Linked DNA regions of Homo sapiens: all the other regions are linked to region 2. Evidence: promoter capture Hi-C in 16 types of primary human blood cells and fetal thymus (Javierre and others, 2016). All regions are on one chromosome and are shown on one strand. Each heading gives the region's core, a stretch centred on a gene start or on the middle of the fragment in contact. The rest is flanking DNA. Distances are from core to core; before and after follow the strand shown.

Region 1 (2,986 bases), core at 5-2,504, 280 kb after region 2:
TCAAGGTGAAGCTCACAGTGTCAGGGTAAGTGTCCCGGCACCAACCCTCGGGCTGCTCTGTCCTGGTCTTAGATGGTCTGAACTTTTCCTTTCCTGAATGACTGGGAGACAGAAAGCAAGGAAAGGCCCATAGCTTCTACCAAGGATTACCAAGTAGAGCTTGGGAGAGATTCTGTTTGTCTAGTACCATGCTTCTGTCTGATAAAATGTCAGGTGGGAAAGGGTGGAGAAGCAGACTCTGAAATGTGTGCATTCTTAGCGCCACTTTGCAAAAATACGTGTGCATATGTGCATGTGGTAGAAGCTGATGTGCAAGAATGAGGATTAGTCAAATGTTATCCTTCAGAAAAGAATAACTGCTGTGAAAGAACTCTCAGTAAATCTTCATGTTTTTGCATCTTAGAAGGTATCCATCCATAAAGTGGGGACTTTCCCCTCCCCTCTCACACATGTAATCACAGGGCACAGGAGTCTTCTTTTCATACAAGAGTGCCAATATCTCAGAGTTTTAAGGGAACAGGTTTCCACTTTCATTTTCATGTGAAGCCAGTTTCTTCCATTTGTTTAATCTTACCAAAAGGGAAAAACTTGAATTCTCATTTTCGTTTCAAATTCCATTGCCAAAGGCTCTGGCCTTTTACCTGGATGAGCCTTGGGTAGTTCTGCCATCAAAGGCAAGTCTGTGCCTAGGTTTCATACTTCTAAGTAGTAAAGAATTCCCTTGAGGAAAATAAGCGTTTAAAAAGAGTTTCCCAAATTTCTAACAAAGTAGAACATGGGTCTATTTTGCATTTTTCGTTAGCATAGTGTTTTTTTTTTTTTTTTTTTCACTGTGGATAGTGCATAAAAGGATCTAAAAACAGGGTGGAGTTTCTTTTAGCAGTCAAGGAAAGCAACCAGCAGGTATTTCACAATGACCTCTTGTGACTTATCTTGAATGTTAGGGCTTGACTTTTTTTTTTTGAGATGTAATCTCTCACTCTGGAGTGCAGTGGCATGACCTCGGCTCACTGTAACCTCCACCTCCCAGGTTCAAGTGATTCTCCTGCCTCAGCTTCTGAGTAGCTGGGATTACAGGTGCCCACCACCATGCCTGGCTAATTTTTGTATTTTTAGTAGAGACGGGGTTTCACCATGTTAGCCAGGCTGGTCTCGAACTTCTGACCTCAAGTGATCTGCCCACCTCAGCCTCCCAAAGTGCTGGATTACAGGTGTGAGCCACCGTGCCCAGCCAACTTTTTTTTTTGAGACGGAGTCTTATTCTGTCACCCAGGCTGGAGTACAGTGGCATGATCTCAGCTCACTGCAACCTCCACCTCCCAGGTTCAAGCAATTCCCCTGCCTCAGCCTCCCGAGTAGCTAAGATTACAGGCGCCTGCCACCATGCCCGGCTAATTTTTGTATTTTTAGTAGAGATGGGGTTTTACCACGTTGGTCAGGCTGGTCTGGAACTCATGACCTCAAGTGATCCGCCCACCTCGGCCTCCCAAAGTGCTGGGATTACAGGCATGATCCCCCATGCCCGGCCTTTTTAAACTAATCATCTTGAGAAAGAGATGAAGTCACAGGTAATGAAGTTGAACATTAAGGGATGGGAAGACCCTGGATGTTGTGAGTTCGGGTGCAAGGGCCATGAGAGCTGGGCTGTGTCCTGCCTCTGAATCATGGGAAAGGGTCGTGTTACCACTGTGACAGTTAACGACAGGCGTTTGTTTGTGTTTTCTAGCTTTCTGGGAGAGCTCACCTCCAGGTAAGCCTGTTCACCTTCCTTGTTTGATTGTTTCTCAAGATATCAAAGGCAGCAAACTTGGGGCTCCAAAACGGTTTCTGATGAAAGCTGCTTTCTGGACAGTTGTGCTCAGAGGTGTTAGGAATGATGCTTTGCCTTCGGATGCATCACAGAACCGTGGCTCATAGGCGTTTCTTTGGGACCAGATTTCTTTGGGACCACAGCTAGACCTATGCCTGGGTAAGGACACACACATACACACCCAGAAAACTGGCACACTCCATGCAGCCAGCTTGTGTGTGTGTGTGTGTGTTTGTGTGCGGTAAAATACACATAACATAAATTTTACCATTATATTATTTATTTTATTTTTTGAGATGTAGTCTCACTCTGTGGCCCAGCCTGGAGTGCAGTGACGTGATCTCGGCTCACCGTGACCTCCACTTCCTGGGTTCAGGCAATCCTCCCGCCTCAGCCTCCTGAGTAGCTGAGATTACAAGCGTGTGCCACAACACCTGGCTAATTTTTGTATTTTTAGTAGAGACGGGGTTTCCCCATGTTGGCCAGGCTGGTCTCGAACTCCTGACCTCCAGTGATGATCCTGCCTTGGCCTCCCAAAGTGCTGGGATTATAGATATGAGCCACCACACCTGGCAAATTTTACCATTTTAACCGTTTTGTTTTATTTTATTTTATTTTATTTTGAGACAGAGTCTTGCTCTGTTGCCCAGGCTCGAGTGCAGTGGCATGATCTTGGCTCAGTGCAACCTCTGCCTCCTTGGTTCAAGCAATTCTCCTGCCTCAGCATCCTGAGTAGCTGGGATTACAGGTGCACGCCACTATGCCCGACTAAGAGCTGAGATGATGCAGTACATAACCTCAATGCCTGTCTCAAATGTTTCTTAACTTGCTGCTGCTTCGTGCATAATTTAAAAGGCAGCTGTCACTATTTGCAATACCAAAAGGTAGAAACAACCCAAATGTCCACCAACAGATGAATGGGATAAACAAAATGTGGTATATCCATGCAATGGAATATTACTGAGCCATAAAAAGGAATGGAGTACTAGTACATGCTACAACATGGATAAACCTTATACTAATAACACTACGCTAAGTGAAAGAAACCAATAACAAAAGGCCACATATTGTATGAATCCATTTACACACAATATCCAGAACAGGCAAATCTATAGAGATAGAGAACAGATTAGTGGTTATGCCAGGGACTATAGGGAGGGAAAATGAGAGTGACTG
Region 2 (2,902 bases), core at 36-2,535:
TCTTTTACGAGCTACGTCCTTCAAGTTAGACAAGAAGAAACCAAGGCCGAGAGAGAGAAGAAACTTGACCAGGTTCCCACAGCTTGAATGTGGTGGCGCTGCCTGGCTGGTGCCCCTTCCTGGAGGGAGTCTGTTGTCATGTCCTGGAGGCCAAGGCCTGGATGTGGGATGGTGGGGGCACTCTTTGTGCAGCGGGTCAACACGTGCCCCTTCGGCCTTGGTGGGCCGGACCCAAGGACGGAAGGTGCCCAGGTCTGGGGGCTGAGGGATGGGTGTCCACCGCAGAGCCCTCAGAAATGACTGGTCCTGGATGGCGGTCCCTGGAGAGGCAGCTCCTCTTTGAGTGGTGGGCATATGTGGCCATGCCCAGTCTTGGAGGCGGTGCAGTCCGACCGGCCACCCCGACTGCTGAGACGCAGGACTCAGCACCCAGTGTTGTCCTTGGCCAGGCGGCCAGCCTGCCCTGTGGGGCTTTGGGGTTCTCCTCTCCGAGCTTGTTTCCCCAGCATCCTGGAGAAGCCCAGGGAAAAACCCAGCCTATGTTCCCGCTGTAAACGGCCCACATCCCCTCCAAGCTCCCTTTGTGTGTCTCCAAGCTGGACTGCAGGGATCAGAGCTGTGCTGCCCGTGCAGCACCCACCCGCCCCTGGGAATGAGGGTAATGGGGTCACAGAGCCATCACTTGGACCTTGGCGCCCTCGGCTGGTGGCAGCCAAGGTCTCCCAGCACCCAGGCCGCTGGGAGTCTCTAAAGGGGAGGGGTGGGGCTCGACTGTCCCCTCCCCCTCAAGTTTGCTCTGTCCTGGGCAGGCCGTAGTCCCAGTTGAGAAGCTGTGCCCCCTTGGGTGTTTTGGAGGTTCAGGGTGGGTGCTGAAAAGCCCTGAGGGAGAGCAGAAGGCTCGGGGGCCTGTCTAGGGCATGGCATCCCACGTGGGTGTCAGCACGGCCGCAGAAGAACCACTTCTCTGGCCCACCCATGCCTGCTAGGCCATGCTTCTTCAGAAGTGGCCACAACTCTCCTGACGTCTCCAGAGCCGGTCATTCCACCCAGGGGGACTTCAGCTGCCACTGGACACTTCAATTGTACGCTGCGACCAGTTGCCAGGAAGGAGAGGGCTGGCAAGAGAGCCGCGGCAGCCGTGGCAGGGTGTAGGGGACGGTGGACGGCCAGGGCCCCCCCCTCTCTCTCTTTCTCTCTCTCTCTCTTGCTTGGTTTCTGTAATGAGGAAGTTCTCCGCAGCTCAGTTTCCTTTCCCTCACTGAGCGCCTGAAACAGGAAGTCAGTCAGTTAAGCTGGTGGCAGCAGCCGAGGCCACCAAGAGGCAACGGGCGGCAGGTTGCAGTGGAGGGGCCTCCGCTCCCCTCGGTGGTGTGTGGGTCCTGGGGGTGCCTGCCGGCCCGGCCGAGGAGGCCCACGCCCACCATGGTCCCCTGCTGGAACCATGGCAACATCACCCGCTCCAAGGCGGAGGAGCTGCTTTCCAGGACAGGCAAGGACGGGAGCTTCCTCGTGCGTGCCAGCGAGTCCATCTCCCGGGCATACGCGCTCTGCGTGCTGTGAGTACAACCTGCTCCCTCCCCGGGCACAGATATGACAGAGGGGCTTAGAGGGGGCCCAGCTTTGAGATGGGTTGTTCTTATGTCACAGGACAGAGTGATCTGACATGCACACTTCCCCGCCACCCTGTCATGGACCTTGTCCTTGGAGTTCAGAGAGCTGGTCTCATGGCAGGTTTTGCAGCCTTGGAGCTGTCAGAACCACTCTGAGGCCTGATGTTACACCCCAGCTTCCCATGAGCTGTATGGACCTTGTGGCTTCCTTGGAGTCTGGGGACCGAGAGAAGGGAGTTTGGGCTTTTGGAGCCAGGAGGAAGCTCAGGGCTCTGTGGAGGTGGGTGTGTTAGAGATCAGCTCAAAGATGCCCAGCTCAGAAACCCTGAGAAGAGCAAAGGTGGCAAGGGGGACCCTTCCTGGAGCACCCAGGCTTCGGGCCCCTGGAGGAAGCTGTTGTTTGGCGAGCCAAGAATATGGGGTGAGTTTAATCAAGAAAGGACTTTCCATTCAGTCAGAAGCTGCTTTCAGGGGCCTGAGAGCAGAGGAAGTCACCATTACCACCAGCGAGCAGCCTCTTCTCTCTCCTGAGCACTTGGCTGTGACCGCTGCCCACCCCCCACCCCCTCAATTTGGGTCTCTGTCACCATCAACTCCTCCCACTGCCCGGTTGGGGATGTTACTGAATGTACCAGCTGTGCTAACAATGGAGGAACCAGCCACTTGCTGAAGGTTCCTTTCTAAAACCCCCTTCCTGTCCAGCGTCTGAAGGAGGCCCTTGCCCTGCAGCTCTCGGTCTAATCATAGGGGGGCCTTGCCCTGCAGCTCTTGGTCTAATCATTTTGCCGGGGCCTCAGGCAGTGCCGGAGTGTAGTCAGGGAAATGTGTGTCCACCTGAACATCTCAAGTAGCATCCCTGGGCTGGCAGAAATGTTCCCCCGAGCAGCCAGGGCCTTGTGCTTCTCCAGGCAGGAGGGGAATTGGGTGATGAACCCAGACCTGTTTTGAATACTGACTCACAGCTGGGACCTGTCGTGCTAAGCATTTGTTAGCCCATTTCATCCTCACCACAACCTAAAGTGAAGGTCCTGTTAAAAGCCCCACTTTGCAGATGAGAAATCTGAGGCCCTGGCAGGTTAAGTGAGTGACAACAGTCAAAGCCACGGCCATCTGCCCCCAGAGGCTGCAGCTGAGACCAGCAGCCTGTGGCCCAACCTCTCCTGCTCCCAGTCCAGCGGGGCAGGCATGTAGCCTTGCAGGGCTGGAGAAAGAAGCAAGGGGAGCCACAGTGTTTACAGGGTCAGCTGGGGCACTGGAAACCAAGCCAGGCTCGCAGCTGGTCGCTGGCCTGT
Region 3 (2,937 bases), core at 11-2,510, 300 kb after region 2:
GCCTGGCCAAAATTTTTTATTTTGAGATAGGGTCTTGCTATATTCCCCAGGCTGGTCTCAAACTCCTGGGCTCAAGTGATCCTCCTGCTTCAGGCTTCTGAGTAGCTGGGAGCGTAGGCTCAAGCCACTGTGCCTGGCTAATTAAAGATTTTGAGAGTAAATCATCGTGAACTTAGGAGAAACTCTAAATCCAGTGTTGGTTTCTTTATAAGAGGAAGGGGAGGGAGATTTGGACAGAAAGACATGTTGGGAAAAAGGTTATGGGAAAATAGAGCCGGAGATTAGAGTTCGTTGATGCAAACCAAGGAATGCCTGGGGCCACCAGAAGCTGGAAGAGATAACAGATGGAATCTCCCCTAGAGCCTTTAGAGGGAGTGCGGCCTTCTGATCCCTTGATCTCCGACTTCCAGCCCCCAGAGCAGTGAGACAGTCAAGTTTTTTTTTTTTTTTTTTTTTTCCAAGTTTTGTTTTAAGCCTTGAAGTTTTATGGCAGCCCTAGGGCAGCCCTGGGGAAAGAACACTGGGCCCTGAACAAAACATGGGAGCCAAGAGGCTGAGCCCTGTGAGACTGTCTGAGTGCCTTAGCAGGGCTGAGGTGCCAGGTTCTGCCAAAGGGCAACAGTCCTGGGTGACACCCTCCCCTCACAATTTGGATTGGGATCCAAAGAAGCCACTTCCAAGGAATGCGCAGGAGCCAGAAGTATTGGAAGGACTGCAGCCCTGCTTCAAATCACCTCAGTCCTCTGAAATTAAAGTAATCCCAGTGTACTAGTGTCTCTAGATTCCCAACAGAAGCAAACTTTAATCCTCTCTAGAGGGAGATATCTCCCTCTAATCCTCCCAGTTATCAATGGAGGCCTCTAATGACTTTCACGAGTCTGTTTGTACGTTCATGATTGTGCATACAGTAAAAAAATAGACATCAAGGGAGGCGAGGCACTTGAGCTAAAACCAGTCGAAACTACAGGCTGTAGACAGACCCACAGGGCTTCCAGACTCCAGACCCAGACTTTATAACAACTGTGCTCGTTGTGTTGGAGGAGACACGAGATCAGATGGAGAGTTTTGGCAGAGAACTAGAAACTATGGAAAAGAACCAGATGAAAATTCTAGTCCACACTGGCCAGATGGCTCACGCCTATAATCTCAGCACTTTTGGACTGAGGCAGGTGGATCATTGGAGGTCACGAGTTTGAGACCAGCCTGGCCAACATGGCAAGATCCCGCCTCTACTAAAGATACTAGACATTTTTTTTTTCTTTTAAGACGGAGTCTCACTCTTGTCACCCAGGCTGTAGTGCAGTGGCATGATCTCAGCTCACTACAACCTTTGCCTCCTGGGTTCAAGCAATTCTCCTGCCTCAGCCCCCCGAGTAGCTAGGATTACAGGTGCCCATCACCACGCCCAGCTAATTTTTTGGTATTTTTAATAGAGACGGAGTCTTACCATGTTAGCTAAGCTGGTCTCGAACTCCCAATCTCAGGTGATCTGCCCGCCTCGGCCTCCCAAAGTGCTGGGATTACATGCGTGAGCCACCTCACCCAGCCAATAAAAGAAAATTATAAAATTGAAAAAGCATAGTGATCAAAATTAACTAACCAAAAAAAGAGCAGATTAGACCCAGGCTGAAAAAATTGTGTGAACCAGAAGATAGCTCAGAAGAAAATACCCACAAGGAAGCCTGGAGACATAAAAAATGGAAAAATTTGGAGAGGGTGGGAGACAGATATAGTAAGAAGGTCTTACTTGTGTTTAATTGTCACAAGAGAGGAGAAGTGAGAGAAAATTGAGGAGACACAATATTTGAAAAGATAATGTGGCCAGGTGCAGTGACTCACGACTGTAATCCCAGCAGTTTTGGATGCTGAGGTGGGCGGATCACCTGAGGTTAGGAGTTCAAGACCAGCTTGGCCAACATGGTGAAACCCTGTGTCTACTAAAAGTACAAAAATTAGCTGGGTGTGGTGGCAGATGCCTGTAATCCCAGCTACTCGGGAGGCTGAGGCAGGAGCATCGCTTGAACCTGGGAAGTGGAAGTTGCAGTGAGCTGAGACCACACCATTACACTACAGCCTGGGCGACAAGAGCGAAACTCTGTATTAAATAGAAAAAAAAGAAAGAAAAGTAATACCTGAGAATTTTCTACAACAAATAACAGGTACCATGAACAGATTCGATAGCCGTATGAACTGAAAGAACCATATCTAATCAATTCCTGGTACACCCTTGTGCTCTGCATAATGATGTTTCCGGATGATGATCCACATGGACAAAGGTGGTCCCATAAGATTATAATGAAGCTGAAAAATTCCAATTGTCTAGTGACGTGGTAGCTGTTATAATGTTGTAGGGCAATGAATTACCTATGTGTTTGTGGTGATGCTGGTGTAAACAGACCTACTGCACTGCAAGTGGTAGAAAAGTATAGCACATACAAGTATATACAGTACATAATAGTTGATGATGATAATAAACAACTATGTTACTGGTTTATGTATTTACTATCTATACTTTTTATTATTTTAGAGTATATTCTTCCTACTTATAGAAAAAAGAAAAACAAATTGTAAAACAGCCTCAAGCAGGTCCTTCAGGAGGTATCCAGAAGAAGGCATTGTTATCATAGGAGGTGACAGCTCCATGCACGTCATTGTCCCTGAAGACCTTCCAGTGGGATAGGATGTGGAGGCGGAAGATAATGATACTGATGATCCTGACTCTGTGTAGGTCTAGGCTAATGTGTGTGTTTGTTTCTTAGTTTTTAACAAAAATATTTAAGAAGTAAAATAATTAAAAAAATTAAAAATAGAAAAAAGGTTATAGAATAAGGATATAAAGAAAATACTTTTGTACAAGTGTACAGTGTGTGTTTCAAGCTAAATGTTACTACAAAAGAGTAAAAAATTAAATTAAAAGTTTATAAAGTAAAAATATTA
Region 4 (3,182 bases), core at 463-2,962, 260 kb before region 2:
TTTGTTAAAATGACTGTCCTTTTTCCATCGAATAGTCTTGGCATCCTTTTCAAAATATTTGACCATGTACTCTGGTTCATTTTGGGGCCCTCTGTTCTATTTTATTGTTCTATATGTCTGTCTTTATATTGGCATTACACTGTTTTGATTACTCTATCTTTGCAATAAATTTTGAAATCAGGAAATGTGAGTCCTCCAGCTTTGTTTTTCTTTTCTTTTTTTCTTTTTTTTTTTTTAAGACCGGGTCTTGCTCTGTTGCCCAGGCTGGAGTGCAGTGGTATGATAATGGCTCACTGTAGCCTCAAACTCCTGGGCTCCAGTGATCCCACCCTAGCCTCCTTAGAACAAGCACACACCACCATACTCAGCTAATTATTTTTCTTTTTTAGAGATGAGGTTTCAGCTGACACACGCTGGCTCATGCCTGTAATCCTGTTTCCTTGGGAGGCTGAGACCAGAGGACTGCTTGAGTCCAGGAGTTTGAGATCAGCCTGGGCAACATAGTGAGACCCTGTCTCTCGCTTTTTTTGAGACAGAGCCTTGCTCTGTCACGCAGTCTGCAGTGCAGTGGGGCAATCTTGGCTCACTGCAACCTCTGCCTTCTGGGTTCAAGCAATTCTCTTGCCTCAGCCACCCAAGTAGGTGGGATTACAGGCATGAGCCATTGCGCCGAGCCAAGAGATCCCACCCCATCTTTAAAAAGAAAAAAAAGAGACAAATTCTTGCTATGTTGACCAGGCTGGTTTTGAACTCCTGGCCGTAAGTGGTACTCCCTGTCTTTCCTCTGCCACCTTGGCCTCCCAAAGAGGGATTATAGGTGTGAGCCACTGCACCTGGCCAAAAAATTTTATTAATTACATTTTTAAATAGTCATATAAGGGGCTGGGCGTGGTGGCTCATGCCTGTAATCTCAGCACTTTGGGAGTCTGAGGCGGGAGGATCACTTGAGTCCAAGAGTTCGAGACCAGCCTGGGCAACACAGTGAGACCCTGTCTCTACAAATAATAAAAAAGCCAGGCATGGTGGTATGCACCTGTAGTCCCAGCTACTTGGGAGGCTGAGGCAGGAGAATTGCTAGAGCCCAGGAAGTTGAGGCTGCATTGAGCACAGCACTTGGCTTGAGTAACAGAGACCCTGTCTTAACAAACAAAAAAAAGACATATACATTATATATTTGTTGTATACGACATGATGTTTTTAAATACGCATACATATTATGGATGGCTAAGTCAGGTTAATTAACAAGCATACTAATCATTTTATAGTGAGAACACTTAAAAATCTACTTGGCAGTGTTTTTTAAGAGTACAATACATTGTTAACTATAGTCATTGTTGCATGATAGATCTCTTGCTATTTTTCAAGAAAGAAACATTGTTTTGGCCATTTGCTGTCTTTTGAGACTTCGTATGTATTTTAGGATGGGATTTTTCTGTTTCTGCAGCAAGCTTCATTGGGATTTTAATAGGGATTATCTTTAATCTGTAGGTTGCTTTCGGTAGTACTGACATTGTAACAATGTTAAATCTTCCAGTCCATGAACATGGATGTGTTTCCATTTATTTAGGTCTTTAATTTCTTTTAGCAGTGTTTTGTAGTTTTCTTTGTACAAGATTTTTACATCCTTGGTTAATCCCGAAGTATGTATTCTTTTTGATGTTATTGTAAGGGGAATTTTTTTCTAATTTTCTTTTCAGATTGTTCATTGTTGGTGTATAGAAATGCAACTGATTTTTCAGCGTTGACTTTGTGTCCTGCCACTTTGCTGAATTTATTTTTTACTTCTAACCTGTTTTTAGAAAAAAAGAATCTAGAATTTTCTGCATAAAAGATTATATCATCTGTGAACAGACTTCTTCCTAATTTGGATGCTTTTTTTTTTTCTTGCCCAGTTGTTCTGACTAGAACCTTTAGTACTATCTTGAATAGGGAAGTGGTGAAAGTGGGCGTCCTTCGCTATCTCCTAATGTTAGAGGAAAAGCTTTCAGTTTTTCACTATTGAATATGATGTCCACTGTGGGATTTTTATATATGACTTTTATTATATTTAGTTAGATCTCTCTATTCTTAGTTTCTTGACCCTTATGAAAGGGTGATACTACTTCTGTGTCAATTAAGATGACCATGTGGTTTTTTTCCCCCCTTATTAATATGGTATATTACATTGATCAATTTTCATATATTGATGCCTTGAACCATCCTTGCATTCTAGGAATAAATAAATCCCACTTGGATTATGGTGTATAATCTTTTTAATATATTGCTGAATTTGCTTTGCTAGTATTTTGTTAAGAATTTTTGCATCAGTGTTCATAAAGGATATTGGTCTATATTTTTCTTTAGAGCCTTTGTCTGACTTTGATACCAGGGTAATTTTGGCTTCATAGAATTAGTTAGGAAGTGTAGGTAATCTTGCTTCCTTTTCAGTTTTTGGAAAAAGTTTGAGAAGGATTATGATTAGTTTTTCCTTAAATGTTTGGTGCGTTTTTCACCAGAGAAGCCATCAGGGCAGGGCTTTCCTTTGTCCAGAGATTTTTTTTTTTTTTTTTTAAAGACAGAGTCTAGCTCTGTCGGCCAGGCTGGAGTGCAGTGGCACAGTCTCAGCCCACTGCAACCGCTGTCTCCCGAGCTCAAGCAGTTCTCCTGCCTCAGCCTCCTGAGTAGCTGAGATTACAGGCGTGTGCCACCATGCCCGGCTCATTTTAGTAGAGATGGGGTTTCACCATGTTGGCCAGGCTGGTCTCGAACTCCTGACCTCAGATAATCTGCCTGCCTTGGCCTCCCAAACTGCTGGGATTACTGGCGTGAGCCACTGTGCCCGGCCTGTTCAGAGATTTTTGATTACTGATTCTAGATACTAGTCCTTTGATGGATATGTGGTTTGTACATATTTTTTGTCAGTCTTTATCTTTTCATTTCATTCTCTTAATAGAGTCTTTCACAGAGCAAAAAGGTGTAAATTTTGATTAATCCAATAGATAAATGTTTTTCTTTTATAGGTTGTTCTTTTTTGTATTAAGTTTAACAAGAACACTTTGCCTAGCTTTAGATGCCAATGGTTTTTTTTGTGTGTGTGTGGAAAAATTTTATAGTTTTTATAATTTACATTTAAGTTCATGGTCCATTTTAAATTAATTTTCATATAAGCTAGTTGTTTTTTGTTGTTGTTTTCTCAATGAGTG
Region 5 (2,765 bases), core at 68-2,567, 300 kb before region 2:
TCTCCTATATGACGACATTCTTAAATATTTGTAATATGAATATTTGCTTAATCATGTAGCTCTTACGTTGACTAAATCATAACAGTGGTCTAAATACACCTTGTGATTTTCTGTAAGAGATGCTTTAGAAATGGAAGAATTGGATGTCTGCAATGAGTGAGACCATTGTCTCTGCATATTGTACCACCAAGATTGGCATGATCATGAGTATAGAGTATTTAAATTCTTTATAAATAGAGTAATTTATCTACAGTCTCTCTAGAAAATGCATTCAATTGTGCATTCCTGGGAAGAGATTTCTTTTAGTAGTCCACTCAGAATGTGGGAATCCAGGTGTGAAGTGTCTGATTAAAAGTCTCCACTTGTTTTGCTAGGTACTATTACATAGTTGTGTTTTTCCCTCTGGCTTTATTTGTCCATCTTTAGAGAATATTTTTTTTTTTAACCTGAGGAGATGTTAGACTAATCTGTAAAACTTAAAGGAAATACCTGTGCAACAAAATTTTGGGTGGTGGGATCTAGGCATGTGTGTGCTTCAAAAGCTCCACAGGCAGTTCAGATTCATACACCGAGTTAGGTTCCATTGGTCCAGAATTTGAGATCCATGCATCTTGGTGGCATGGTGGTGGTTTCGAGTTGGGACTGACCACTTATGGCTCTGGCCTGCTGCTTGGGCATTTCCTGTGTTTTTCTGCTGTGGGTTGGTAGCAAGGAGAGGTTGTACTTGGGCAGCTTTGCCTCCAGTGCTTTTCAGGGCAAGCCAGGGAGAGATCTTCTTGGTGAAGAAGTGTGAATAACACCGACTTTTGTGTGCTGCAAATACCAACCAATCTCTGAACAGCACCCCCCGCCCCCCGCCATTACTTAATCTAGAAACAAGTGAATGATTGAATTTCTCCTTGCTTTTTGGTTTATGATTGAATTTCTCCTTGCTTTTTGGTTTCTTTGAAATGAAGGGTTATCACATATGATAGAAAGCTTACATTCAGAATTTAATCAGGCTATGTAAAAAAGATAGATGTGACATATGTAAGAAGTCATGACTTTATTTACATATTAATGTTGAAGAATGGCACGAAACTAGTCAAGTGACTGAACTGACTTGGTGTGAAAAGTACTTTTAACATTATCTCAACCACCCGTGATTCTTCTTAATGATCTCAGTAGCTCATTTTCTGAAAGAAGGTTGTAATTATAATCTGTGGTTTTGTGTTTTCCACTCATTACTTAATTTTAACTTGCTGGTTAAATAATGATTATTGTGGCTTTTCTTTGTATAGGCAGAGCTAACACTAGATGATTATCTTGGCTGTTTGCAACTTTAGGAAACTTTGATGTGGAAATTGACTGATTTCCAGGCTGCTAAATATCATGTACTAGTAAAATTTAAATAAACTAAATAGGTGGTAAGAACAACATGAAACTGTCATTTTATTTGGTTAGGTTGTTTAAAAATAAAGCAGATTGACAGAGCTCTCAACTATTGTCTTCATCATTATTAAAAGGAAGTATGTTTTAATTCCCAAAAAGAATAGGGTGAATTCTTAGTAGAACAGTTCTTTAATTGAGCCTTACGATAGGTTCATCATGTTATATTTACTTCCTTATTCATGTATGGGAACCACTTTATAGAAGATTAAAATTTTTCCAAGTTGGAAAGCTTTAGAACCTGATCGTTGTAGTATGTCCCACCCTAAAGTTTTAGTATCATTAGCAGGACCGGTGTCAGTGCTAGTTATAACTGAGAAAATATTTTATATGTGTTTTGCTTGTCTTTCTGGTAAGCTGGAGGCTATTTTTTATATTTATATGTTTCTGGAATAAAACATTTTCTTCAAGGTGATACAAGTGTAAGGGCCTTCCTGAGCAAATGGCTTTCTCTAAAAGATGAGGAGACTTTTGCCCCCATCCTAAAATCTTCCTTGTAGAGGACATGCGTTATATGACAATTTATATTACATTATTTTAGGATCTTAAATACAGTGTATACATTTCCTGAAGGGGAGAAGTACTTAAACTGTGAGTTGACTTTAAGTGAAGTTGACACAAGTGGAAGGGTAACTTTATTATAGTTCCACCGTGCTTCTCACTTCCGTTTGACAAATGAAGAAGTGGATACTTGCACTCGTCAAGAGGGTATCCATTGTTTCTAAGATTACCCACAAAATAATTTGGTGCATTATTTTGATACTTCATAATATAGTCATATAAAAGTACAAGTGTATTCTGAGTTAATTCTTGATAAATTACAAACAAGAAATAGAAATACTGCATGGATATTTGAAGTAATTAGCTCAATTATATTTAGCTTTGGGATGCATTCATCAAGATCCATCATTTTTCTTTGGGTCATTGTGCACTGTGAGAAAAATTGAGCTAGGGACGATGGCTAAGATTTCACCTAGTTACAAATACATCCTTGGACCCCCACCCCTCCTCCCCTCCTCTCATTTTCTCACCTGTGTATTGAATACAAATGTTTGTTGGGAAAACTGTACATAAAGTATGAAGCTAAAAGTGCATACGGTCTTCTGCCTCCAGACCTAACAATTGGATATATAGCCTTCTTGACCCTAACGGTGCAGCTATATCATTTATATAAATGGAATAATTTTTATATGCATCATTCTTCAGTATGTTCTTGTTATTGAACAGAATAATGTCCGTGCTTAATCTGCTGTGGCATCATAGTGTTCTACTGTATTTTATCAGAATTTATGTAGCTAATCCTTTATTGATTAGATTTCTAGTTTTTTTTTTTAATT
Region 6 (2,869 bases), core at 349-2,848, 330 kb after region 2:
CATCGTAGAATAGAGGGGATGGTATAAGGGAAACAGGAGGCAGGGGCTGTGCCGGGGGACCCTGTAGGGAGTGGAGAGGGAGACGGGGGAGGTCCCCAGGCCTGACTCCCAGCCCTGCCCTGGAGCATCTTTCTCTCCAGGACCAGGATCCTTCTGCTCTACTCCCTTGTTTCCTTTCACGGCCAGACCCTTTCCATTTGGACCTGTCTCTCTTCTCCAGAAGAATTTGTTTTAGCCAGGACCTTCCCCCTCCATGTGCTCGCTGGAGGAACAAGCCAGGAGGACACGGAATCCTCAGTCCAGACCCCGGCCTTCCCTCAGCTAAAACACTGTGTGAGAACATACTTCACATGTAAAAGTGAATACTGGTATTGACAGTAGTAAATACAGAAATACCAGCATTGGGTTGTTTGCTTTGGTTCTCTCTCTTTCTTCCTTCACTAATGCAATGACAATGTTTGTAGATTTTTTTAAAAAAATCATGGCACTATACCTGTGAGCCCGAGCTTTTGGTTAGAAGCAGGTGGGTGGGTTAATTTGGATTGGCTTATTGATTGGATGCTACAGTTTCAAGGTACTGGGGCTTCTGTGGGTGCTTGTTAGGGATCATTGGGGTGTGGTGGGCAGCGCTGGCTAGTGCTTAGGGATGTACCTGTCTTTATGTGCCTTAGTCCCTGTGTTTGTCTCTTTCTAGTCAATCATATTTGATGAGGTGGATCTGACAGATGCCAGCGTAGCTGAATCCAGTACCAAAAACGTCAACAACAGTTTTACGGTAAGATTCCTCAGTCATGCCTTTCTTGATTCTTCACTGAAGTTGGCTTTCCTTTTTGATCTGAACATGTGTCCAAGCAGTTCAAACGTTTTCATTCTTTTCTTACTGATTGGAATGATTGCTGGTAAAATTTGAATTTAATGCTGAAAGTAATACTGTGGTTGGAGAATAACCAAGAATTTGGCATGCATAAGCACAAAAGGACAATAGGGACCAAATGAAAAATTTTTATATGTGTTTTGGTTCACGTCTGTTTTGTTTTTTTTGAGACGGAGTTTGGCTCTTGTTGCCCAGGCTGGAGTGCAATGGCGTGATCTCCAGCTCACAGCAACTTCCGCCTCCCGAGTTCAAGCGATTCTCCTGCCTCAGCCTCCCGAGTAGCTGGGATTACAGGCATGTGCCACCACACCTGGCTAATTTTGTATTTTTAGTAGAGACAGGGTTTCTCCGTGTTGGTCAGGGTGGTCTCGAACTCCCAACCTCAGGTGATCCACCCTCCTTGGCCTCCCAAAATCCTGGGATTACAGGTGTGAGCCACCACGCTTTGCTGGTTCACATCTTACTACCTCTGTACAGAGTTTTGTTTTTTGTGATTAATGTAGAAAATTTGGAAAATGCAGACAAGTATGTTAAAGCAATTAAAAAGCAGCCATAACAGCCACCTCAAAAAACATTGAATGTTAATATTTTGGTGTATTTCTTTTTTTTTTCCTTTTTTATGTTTAAACTTTCTTCCTTCCAAATTTATAAAAGTTATGTAGGACTTTCTGCAAAAGTTCTAAATGCACAGAATCATGTGATCTCACCACTTGGAAGTGGCCAGCTGCTTACTCTACAGTGTTTATCTTTATTTCTGTATATTTATGTCTTTACCTACATGTACCCATGAGATCATGCTGAACCTTTTGGTTTACACCTGTGTTTTTTTCCCCCCCCAGGACAATTTATAGTAGAGAGTTGCTCATGTCAGCTGATCTAAATGTTCATGATATTATTTAATGGCTATAGTAGCATTTTCTTGTAGGATTTTATAATTTAGGCTTTACGGGCTGACTTTAGCGCCTGCCTGTGTAAGGTTTGACTCTAATAACAGCACTAGAACTTTTAAAGCTGTTTTTCTTTATGTTATTAGGCCATCCCATGTAGACAAAAAGTGTGTACCCTAATTAAAAAAATTATTCTTTTATAATTCAGTCAAGGTGAGTAATTTTCCTCAAGTTTAGGATCTGATATTTTGGGTTAGTGCTAGTTTCAGGTGCTTTCAAGTTTTGTTTTATTTTATTTATTGATGGATTCATTGTTGATGTTGCCAATACAAATGGGATTTTCCTTTCTCTGTCTAAACCTCTGCTTATTTTGTGTTGATTAACTGCTCTTATTTTACTTGGAGTATTTGTAGTTTTCTCTATTAATTTATTTTTACCAGCTGGGAAGAGACATTTTTAACCACATAAATAGATTTTTCTTTGATTCGTGGTTTTTAGAGTCTTTAATAGGAGTAGGTGTTGAATTTCTTTGGAGTGTTCTGAGCATCAGTTGATTAATTAATGAATTTTTTTGAGATGTTGTCTCCCTTTGTCACCCAGGCTGAAGTGCGGTGGTGTGATCTCGGCTCACTGCAACCTCCGTCTCCCAGGTTCAAGGGATCCTCATGCCTCAGCCTCCCTAGTAGCTGGGATTATAGTCGTGCACCGTTATGCCCAGATAATCTTCGTAATTTTAGTAGAGATGGGGTTTCACCATATTGGCCAGGCTGGTCTCAAACTCCTGGCCTGGAGTGATCTACCCGCCTGAACCTTCCAAAGTACTGGGATTACAGGCATGAGCCACTGTGCCTGGCCCTGGGCATTAATTTAGATGTTCATTTTGGTTTCAGTTATTTGCATATTTCCTAATAAAAAAATTATTCTTGGTAATGTTGAATTTTACTCCTTTATCTTGCAATTTAGAATTTTCCCACTGGTATGTATGCATTTGTTTTGGGTGAGAATGTAGCCTTATTGCAGTTTTAAACAATTGTTTTTTCTGTTTTTAATTTTAATGGATACATAATAGTTGGACATACTGTGTTTTGATTTCAGAGTTAAACCAACC

The links. The method cuts DNA at HindIII sites, captures the fragments that hold promoters and counts their contacts. A CHiCAGO score of 5 or more calls a contact.
Region 1: a fragment that was not itself captured here is called in contact with the fragment with the promoter of INPP5D in region 2 in 1 of 17 cell types (neutrophils); the score reaches 6.5 in neutrophils.
Region 3: a contact is called between a fragment that was not itself captured here and the fragment with the promoter of INPP5D in region 2, in 1 of 17 cell types (neutrophils). The highest score is 8.7, in neutrophils.
Region 4: a fragment that was not itself captured here is called in contact with the fragment with the promoter of INPP5D in region 2 in 1 of 17 cell types (neutrophils); the score reaches 6.5 in neutrophils.
Region 5: a contact is called between a fragment that was not itself captured here and the fragment with the promoter of INPP5D in region 2, in 2 of 17 cell types (naive B cells and endothelial precursors). The highest score is 5.6, in naive B cells.
Region 6: a fragment that was not itself captured here is called in contact with the fragment with the promoter of INPP5D in region 2 in 1 of 17 cell types (neutrophils); the score reaches 6.7 in neutrophils.

Annotation. Positions count from the first base shown.
Region 1 is chr2:233,338,729-233,341,714 of GRCh38, forward strand. It overlaps SAG (S-antigen visual arrestin), which reads left to right. Exons shown (of 16, transcript NM_000541.5): 12 at 1-25; 13 at 1,727-1,750. Among named protein-coding and RNA genes, the nearest start is that of DGKD, 14 kb to the right of the region's middle. The HindIII fragment of the contact is 5,690 bases long and covers 1-2,986 here.
Region 2 is chr2:233,059,057-233,061,958 of GRCh38, forward strand. INPP5D (inositol polyphosphate-5-phosphatase D) reads left to right here and starts at 1,286. Exons shown (of 27, transcript NM_001017915.3): 1 at 1,286-1,556. The coding sequence starts at 1,423. RefSeq lists enhancers at 961-1,240, 1,841-1,930 and a silencer at 1,441-1,520. The HindIII fragment of the contact is 5,811 bases long and covers 1-2,902 here.
Region 3 is chr2:233,360,550-233,363,486 of GRCh38, forward strand. All of the region lies in intron 1 of DGKD (diacylglycerol kinase delta), which reads left to right. Among named protein-coding and RNA genes, the nearest start is that of DGKD, 7.5 kb to the left of the region's middle. The HindIII fragment of the contact is 7,993 bases long and covers 1-2,937 here.
Region 4 is chr2:232,800,367-232,803,548 of GRCh38, forward strand. All of the region lies in intron 14 of GIGYF2 (GRB10 interacting GYF protein 2), which reads left to right. Among named protein-coding and RNA genes, the nearest start is that of KCNJ13, 25 kb to the left of the region's middle. The HindIII fragment of the contact is 533 bases long and covers 1,447-1,979 here.
Region 5 is chr2:232,756,927-232,759,691 of GRCh38, forward strand. All of the region lies in intron 6 of GIGYF2 (GRB10 interacting GYF protein 2), which reads left to right. Among named protein-coding and RNA genes, the nearest start is that of KCNJ13, 18 kb to the right of the region's middle. The HindIII fragment of the contact is 682 bases long and covers 977-1,658 here.
Region 6 is chr2:233,389,709-233,392,577 of GRCh38, forward strand. DGKD (diacylglycerol kinase delta) reads left to right here. Exons shown (of 30, transcript NM_152879.3): 3 at 695-775. Among named protein-coding and RNA genes, the nearest start is that of DGKD, 37 kb to the left of the region's middle. The HindIII fragment of the contact is 5,698 bases long and covers 1-2,869 here.